2 separate regions of the Homo sapiens genome follow, and region 1 is linked to region 2. Evidence: promoter capture Hi-C in human tissues and cell types (Jung and others, 2019). All regions are on one chromosome and are shown on one strand. Each heading gives the region's core, a stretch centred on a gene start or on the middle of the fragment in contact. The rest is flanking DNA. Distances are from core to core; before and after follow the strand shown.

Region 1 (4,129 bases), core at 623-3,122, 190 kb before region 2:
TATCAATTCGAGTGTCTCTTGCTTTAAAAGTACTTATAAAGAGGAAAGAAAGAACTTCTATTTAAATTTTGCATAAACAATTTATTTTCATTCTAGCCTTAAATTGTAAAAACACTGGTTTCTAAATTTAATTCCATTTCCAAAAATGCCTACCACTTGCAGCTTCTCTAATTCTTCCCATCACCTCACAAAGCCTCCTCAGCCTCCGGTGGTATATGGCAGCCTTCAAATTCTCACAGCAAGCGTCACCATCCTGCCGAATTTTATGATCCCTATCATTTCACTTCTTTACCATTGTTTGATGCTGTTGTTTTTTTCACTCTACTCCAGAGCACAAAAAAATTGACTGTCTTCGTTGATAATACATATTCAAAGATTAAAATCATAAGTTTGTCATTTTTTTCTAAATCTTTTTATTACTGTTTAAAAAATGTATTCTTCATTTTGTAGAAAATAGCAGTCTTCTGTTAATTAACATATAACATTTAATTAAAATCTAATGATCCCATATACTTACATTATGCCTACATAAATAAGCTCAAAGATAAGTTTTAGAATTGTTCTAATTCATTCTCGGTGCTCTAATTTATTTCTATAATTTCACCTCAATTCTACATCTGTGTGGTAGGCAAAAGCAGGAATTATTTCACTAGTATTTCAGGGAGAGAAAAATGGAGTCCTTATGAAATTTTCTTTCCTAATTACATGTGTATTTGTGGCCACTCCCCTTCTCTTTTACCCAAAGCCCATCTAGCATGTGTTTATGCAGATTCAGATGCCTGTAATGGTGAATTCAAGGTAGCAATCACCCTGATGTTGGTCCCAAGATTGTTTTAAAAAAAGAAAAACATATCAAGTTAGCAGATACACGCAAAGAGAAAAATACTTGAAACTTCTGAAGAGTAAAGGGTCTAAGACAGCACTATCCAAAGAACTTTCTGCAAGGTTGTGAGTATTCATCACTTGAAATGTGGCTAGTCTGACTGAGGAACTGAGTTTTTAACTTTATTTACATTTAAATAACCACATGGGGTTAGGGGCTGTTATTTTGGACAGTACAGGGTCGAGAAGCTAAAAGGGACCTAGTTTTCTTTCAGTGCCTCATGGGGGCGCTGGGAGAGAACAAAAGCTCTAACTTGAAGAAGCTGAACAGTGAAGCGGAGCGAGCACAAGATGAAACATTGAAGAACAGGCATCCCGGGCCGTGATTGCTCCACAAGCTGGAGCAAGTCATTTGGCCCTTTGTTTCCCATCTGTGAGTTGGGAGCACAACTATGTCTGGCACATTTCACAAATTTTCTGTGATACTCCAAATAAAACCACAAAGAAGAAAACCTGAAATTGTAGTTCAGACTCATTCAGATGTACTGTCTTGTGCTACTGTTCATTGACTCAGGGTAAGCTCCAATATACCCAGCTCTCTTAATCAGATTCCCCAAAAGTAAACATGAGAGGGAGATTTCTGTGCTAGTGATTTATTAAGAAACTGCTCCCAGAGAAACCAGGAAAAGAATGAGGAAGCAGGACAGGAAAGGGGAAGAGGACAAGCCAAGTCCCAGGCTTTGCCAGATTCTCAGGGCAGCTCTGGGGTATAAAGTTTGTCTCAGCTGAAGGTAAGGGAGCTCGACTTTCAAAGCCCTCATCACATAAGGCTATGAAAGCCCATGACTTCCTGGAGGACATACAACTCCAAGCATTTTCAGCTTGTGTTTGTGTTTGTGTGTCAGTGTGTGTACACCCTCATGCACATATACATGCATGGATGCACTTTCAGCTTGTGTGTGTGTGTGTGCACTCTCATGCACATATACATGCATGGATGCACTTTCAGCTCGTGTGTGTGTGTGTGTGTGTGTGTGTGTGTGTACCCTCATGCACATATACATGTATGGATTCACCTTCAGCTCGTGTGTGTGTGTGTGTATGCGCCCTCATCCACATACACATGCAACGAATGCTACAGGCATCATGAAGCACTTCTAGTACTCCAAATACAAGGAACTTCAAAAAGGTTATAGAATAATAGAATTAGAAGATAAAAATTAAAACTATAAGCTTTATTTCTCAACATAAGTTCCATCAAGTTTAAGACACTTTTATAAGCGATATCAGCCATTTAGTCCATCCCTGAAGAACTGAAGGTCCTGAGAATTTAGCCATGGCAATGAAGACTTTTTACATTATAAACTGAAGAAAAATTGGTTCCCTTTAAAGTTTTTTTTAAGATTAGGAAACAAAATAAGTAAGAAAGCATCAAATAAAAACTGTAAGGTGGATACCTTATGATTTTCCATCAAAATTCTTGCAAAATTTCCTTTGTTTGATGAGAGGAAGGAGCAGGAGTATTGTCGCGGTAGAGAAAGACTCCAGTGAAGCTTTCCTGGGGGTTTTTCTGCTGAAGCTTGGGATCACTTTCCCAAAACACTCTCATAATATGCAGAAGTTATCATTCGTTGGTCCTCCAGAAGGTCAACAAGCAAAATGCCTTGAGCATCTCAAAAAACTGTTGTCATGACCTTTGCTCTTGATTGATCTGCTCTGGCTTTGACTGGACCACCTCTAACGTTTGATAGTCATTGCTCTGGTTGTGCTTTAGCTTCAGGATTGTGCTGGTAAAGCCATGTTTCATCTCTTGTTACAATTCTTGGAACCAGTGCTGTAGGAAATTGATCCCACTTATTTAAAAGTTCCATTGAAAGCTCTGCTCTTGTCTGCAGCTGGTCTGGGTGGAACAGTTCTCTACCCATCATGTGGAAAGTTTGCTCAACTTTTTCAGTCAGAACTGTGTAAGCCACACCAGTTGAGATGTCTATTGTGTTGGCTATTTTTTCTGCTGTTAATCATCAATCCTCTTCAATTAGGGCACAAACAAGATTAATTTTTTCCTGGAAACTTTATGTGGATGGTCTGACATTGTGAGCTTCATCTTCAACATCATCTCATCCCTTTTTAAAATGAGTTATCCATTTATAAACTGCTGATTTCTTTGGGGTATTATCCCCATAAACTTTTCATAAAGGATCAATGATTTTACCATTCTTTCTTCCACCCAAGCTTCACAATAAGTCTGGTGTTTGTTCTTTCTTCAATTTTCGAAGAAGTCATGCTGTTCTGATAGGAGCTCTTTTCAAACTCATGTCTTATCTTTCTTAGTACCTCAAACTAGATTCTGTTCAGTGTTATAAGTTAGTACAAGTTAATTTTGACACAAAATTTTTTTTCAACTCTGTGCATAGCTGTGGTTTTTTTTCAACTTTTATTTTAGATATAGGTGGTACATGTGCAGGTTAGTTACATGGGTATATCGACCTCAGGTAGTGAGCAAAGTACCAAGTAGGTAGTTTTTCAACCCATCTCCCACTTCTTCCTCCACTTTCCTGTAGTCCACAGTGTCTATTGTTCCCATGTTTATGTCCATGAGTGCTGAATGTTTAGCTCTCTGTTATAAGTGAGAACATGTGGTATTTGGTTTTCTGCTCCTATATTAATTCACTTAGAATTATGGCCTCCAGCTCCATCCATGTTGCTGCAAAGAACATGATTTAATTCTTTTTCACAGCTATGTAGTATTCATGTTGTGTGTGTACGACATTTTCTTTATTCAATCCACCATTGACGTCACCTACATTGATTCCATCTCTTTGCTATTGTGAATAGCATGGCAATAAATTTGCAAGTATGTGTCTTTTTGATATAATGATCTATATTCCTTTGGATATGTACCCATTAATGGGATTGCTGGGTCAAACAGTAGATCTGTTTTCAGTTCTTTGAGAAATCTCCAAACTGCTTTCCACAGTGGCTAACCTAAGTTACATTCCCACCAAGAGTGTTTAAAGATTCCCTTTTCTCCACAGCCTCACCAGCATCTGTTGTTTTTAGACTTTTTAATGATAGCCATTCTGACTGATAGGAGATGGTATCTCATTGTGGTTTTGATTTGCATTTCTCTGATGATTAGTGAGGATGAGCATTTTTTCATAAGTTTATTGGCCACTTGTATGTCTTCTTTTCTTTTTTTTTTTTGAGACGGAGTGTCGCTGTCGCCCAGGCTGGAGTGCAGTGGCGCGATCTCGGCTCACTGCAGGCTCCGCCCCGCAGAGTTCACGCCATTCTCCTGCCTCAGCCT
Region 2 (4,277 bases), core at 412-2,911:
TAAGACCAGGACCCCGGCACACTACTCATTGGCACTAAGGTAGCCCCATGACATGTCTCTACAGAGATAGGCAGAGCAAAAGAAACTTACTTTTTCAGGCAATTTTCTCTGATTTTCATAAAACTGTAGCTACCAAATGGGGATACCTAGGGTATCAGTTTTATGATATCCTAGGTATCCCCGTTTCTCCCATTCTTCCCCTCCAAACCATCTTCCTGGGTCTGCTGCCCTGTCCATCTTCACAGAATTCAGTTCGGATTGTCTCCTCCCCCAGCATCTCTGCTATCTCCACGTAGTCTACAAACTAAGTGCAGGAGCCACAGACTGACAGTCAGGACTTCTGCCTGAGCCCCCATCCACAGCTCAAACCCTCTTTCCTATTTCACTATGCTAATGCTTACCCCTTGCACTCCAAACAAGCAGGTCTGTGTACCACCATCTAACACCCCAACAGGGCCAGGCTAGGGTGAGGTGAGTCACAGCACTTAAAGGTTCACCAAAGAATTCAGTAATCAAGGTTAATATTTTAATGGAATATTTAAAAAAATCAAAATTAATATCAAAAATGCATGATGAAAAATAACAAAATTTTAAATAAAGACAGGGTAAGTTTAGGGGTTTTTCCTATTGCTTCAGGCTCAAAAGTGCCTTCCGGGGCACTGTTATCGGCCCTGCAGTGACTCCCCACACAGATACTTTTACTAATGATGTTTCCCAAAAGTTAGTTCTTACAACCGCTTTCTACATTAGTAACGTCTTTCTTCTTGAACGCTCCAGCATTTAAGTGTAGCGCTCTACTGTCAGGAAAACCCATTTCCCCTAGTAACTAGTAGTACTTCGAAGATATTCTGAATCATCTTGGATCCTTTCCAGCACTTTCCCAAACCACAGTGAGCACTCAGCACCACTTCGCTAAAAGAGTGCAGAATCACAATGCTCAAATCACTGTCTGGGGGGTTCAGCAGGGAGGGGACGCAGATATGTTTTGTTTAGTCCAGGGTGTTTTGAGAAAATTGAATTTGTTATCAAGATTTTACAAATCAGGATATTGTACATGAATATACTCCGTCATTTCTGGAAAAATCAGAAAATCTAGCAACACTAGGTCTAATTCTTGCCCGATAGCAAGGGACCCTGAGAGCAGATAAGCGGCCCTGCCTTCGGAGCTCTCTCCAGTTCGCCTTCCCCCAGTTACAGTGCCTGTCAGGCCCCATTAGATCTTTGAGTTTGCTATCGTAAGAATAAAGGAAGGAGCGCACAGGATAAAAACCCATCGGCTGGGTCTATTCGTTTTTTCCTAGAGAAAAAAAAAAATGTTTCCTGGTTGTCCTTTCGAATATAGTCTCACAGAGAAGCTCACAGAAGCAGCCCACCTTTCTAGCCCACAAACTTCCCACAAGCCGTGAAAGTCGCACCGGCTCTTGCACCCAGATCGGTTTCTCCCGGGTCTTTGGCTCAGGGCCCCCGCCCCTACATTGGCCTTTCCCTTCCTCTGCCACCTCCGCGCTCCGAGGCCTGGGGCGGGTCGCGGGTCCCGGCCCCCAGCCCCCAGCCCCTAGCCGCTGCTCTTTGCCCCGGGCCAGGGCGCTCGGGCTCGCCCACGGCGGCACTGAGCATGCTCAGAGGCGGCCGCGCGGGCAGGTTTGCTTCGCAGGCGCTCGCACTCGGCGGCGGGCGGGCGCGCGGCTGCAGCTGGAGCTCCAGCGCCCGGAGTTGGAGTTGCCGGGAGTTTCCCCCCAACCCCTCCCTTTTCGCGCGCGGCAGCAGGAGCCGGCGCGGGAGCCGCGAGCGGCGGCGAGCCAGCACCCGGGCCGGCTAAGCCTTGTCCGGAGCCCGGAGCCCCGCGCGGGGCAGCCCCCCGGGGAGGAGCCTCGTGCTCTGGGACGCGTGCCGCGCACTGGCACGGCAGGGGCGCGAGCCAGGCTGCACGGTAGGACCGGGGCGAGGGGAGCCAGGCGGTCAGGGCGGAGGCCAAGCCCGGGAGATGCGGTTGCAGCCGCCACGGCTGTTGGGGCGCCTGGCGCTCCGTCCGAGGCGGGTGGCTGTGAGGCCAGGGGAGTAGGCAGGCTCCCAGAGAGATTCTTCCAAGTTGGCGGGTGGCGGGAGAGGGGGCCGCGCGCCCCGGCGCAGCTGCTTTGTGCGCGCAGAGAGGGACTCGTGTCCCTGGTTCTCTCCAACCCTGGGACCCGTTGTGCGGGCAGTATTGGGCAAGCCGCAGAACGGAGCGATTTCCTCCGAGAAAGTTGAGGATGGAGCCTTTTTTTCCGCACCGTCCCCGCGATGGCATGGGCCCCGAGAATGCTGCCCCGAGGCTCCCAGTGTGGGGGAGCTCGGGGTCGCTGCGCCTCTAGCTTGAGCGCAGAAATCCGCGAATCACTCCGATCTTCGCGAACTCTGGCATCTTCTAGGAAAATCATTACTGCCAAAACTGAGGCGAGCTTTTCTGGCGGGCACGGCACCCTGCCCCCAGGGCGCTGGCCCTGGGCGATGCCCCCTTTCCGATCTCAGGCTTGGTCAAGGGCGCCAGGTTCCGAATTCGCGCTTGCCGTGCACGCCGGCATCGAGCCTCACCAACACCGCCGGGCAACGTGGCTGGAGTAGGTGGGTGGCTTGATTTTCCCTCCAACCTTTCCTCAGGTTTACAACACCCCGCCACCTCACCACCCCACCCCGTTCATCTTCACAGAGGACAGGACCTGCAGGTGGAGAATTTGGAAAGACATCTTGTTCTTTAGGAGAAAGTCCCCGGGGTGTATCTGCCCTTGGTTCTGGCCCCAGGATTTCATAACGAACCTTCTCCCCTTCCTATTACGCTTCCCTAGGGACTGGGTGGGAGAGAATAGGATCGGTAGGTCCGCAGGAACTTCCATCTCATTCCACCCTCTCCTAAGATTGCCTTCCGGGCGACCCCAGGACCCTGGAACTGGCATTGTGCGGATTGTAAGGCTGTGGAGGATGCCGACGAATTTTTCCTGGCTCCACTTTTTTCACTTCTTGTTTTGAGTTTTGGGGTTTTGCCTGCACACTAGTCAGAGCTGCGCCCTAGTCAGAGCCACCCTGGGGGTGGAGGAGCTTCAGCCGAGGCTGTGAGCTGCTGTTCGTCTCAGAGGCTGCTAGTGGGAATCGGTCCAGAAATGATTATGCAGGCTAGAAATATGCCTCTCTTTTTTTCTTTTTTGGCTGAACACCTTGGCTGTTGGGTTTGTGTGTTACGTTCTTAAAGGGACACCCTCACACTGCTCAAGTGCCAGGATTTAGGGGCTCACCATTCTGCTGCCTGTTTTTCTCTTTGCTTTTTCCTTGAGGGTAGTCTGCTTTGGGGCCGATTTCTAGATGTGCGAATCACATAATGTGGATACACTACACAGTTCTAGAGTCAGACAGACTTGAGGTCAAGTTTCAGCTTTACAGCTGATGACAGTGCTGATGGACAAATGATTAGTCACTCTGAACTTAAGTTTTCTCTTCTGTCAAACGGAGATAATCGTGGCCTTACCTCCCTCCATTGCAGGGTTGTTGTAAACTCAGATGAGATAATGAAAATGAAAAGAGCTAAGAAAACTTTAAAAGCACCATTCAGGTCTTAGATATTGTCTCTGTGCTCTTTACTCAGTTGTTTTGAATGAGCTAATTCTTAATTATAACAAGACATCTAGGTCTTCTCTCCTCTCTGTCCACTCCTCACCAAGTGGTTTAGTTGCTTGGGCCTTTGGAAGCATCTGTTTACCCTTTTTCTTTCTCTATCCTCAAATCCATCTCTTTTGATTTTAAGAATTGGAGCTCCAGTCCTCATATTTATCTGAGGAAGGCAGCATGATGTAGATTAGGAGATGACTGGGGTGGCCTTATCAACATTCAGAGTCCTAGGCCCCAGAATTGGCACGGTCAGAAAGGCCTTAGTTTGAAACTCAAGGCTGATGAAGAAGTCAGCAGATCCTGGAATGGAGCTCTGACTTGACCTCTAATAGTGACCTTGAACTAAGGACTCAAATCCTAATCTGTGAAATCAGTCTATGAAGATTAAAAGCCAGTATCAATTGAAGGCAAGAACAGGTGAGATTATCACTCAGTTAAAAAGGGTTCACACAGGCTCCTGAGCCACCCCAGGTGCAGCATCTTCCCTAATCTTAGGGCAGTGGTTCTCAGATCAGAATCATCTGGAGGGCTTGTTACATCTCAAACTGTTGGGCTATACTGCCAGAGTCTCTGATTCTCTAGGTCTAGGGTGAAGGCCCAAGAATTAGCATTTCTGACTAGTTCCAGATGATGCTAATGGT

The links. Contacts are between HindIII fragments. The study calls those that stand out against the background at their distance.
Region 1: a fragment that was not itself captured here is called in contact with the fragment with the promoter of STXBP6 in region 2 in 5 of the 25 tissues and cell types used here (bladder, heart right ventricle, hippocampus and 2 more).

Annotation. Positions count from the first base shown.
Region 1 is chr14:25,235,063-25,239,191 of GRCh38, reverse strand. No RefSeq gene overlaps it. Among named protein-coding and RNA genes, the nearest start is that of LINC02286, 81 kb to the right of the region's middle. The HindIII fragment of the contact is 5,841 bases long and covers 1-4,129 here.
Region 2 is chr14:25,047,531-25,051,807 of GRCh38, reverse strand. It overlaps STXBP6 (syntaxin binding protein 6), which reads left to right and starts at 1,661. Exons shown (of 6, transcript NM_001394410.1): 1 at 1,661-1,930. LOC124903295 (a long non-coding RNA gene) reads right to left here and starts at 1,464. Exons shown (of 2, transcript XR_007064091.1): 1 at 1,374-1,464. The HindIII fragment of the contact is 10,437 bases long and covers 1-4,277 here.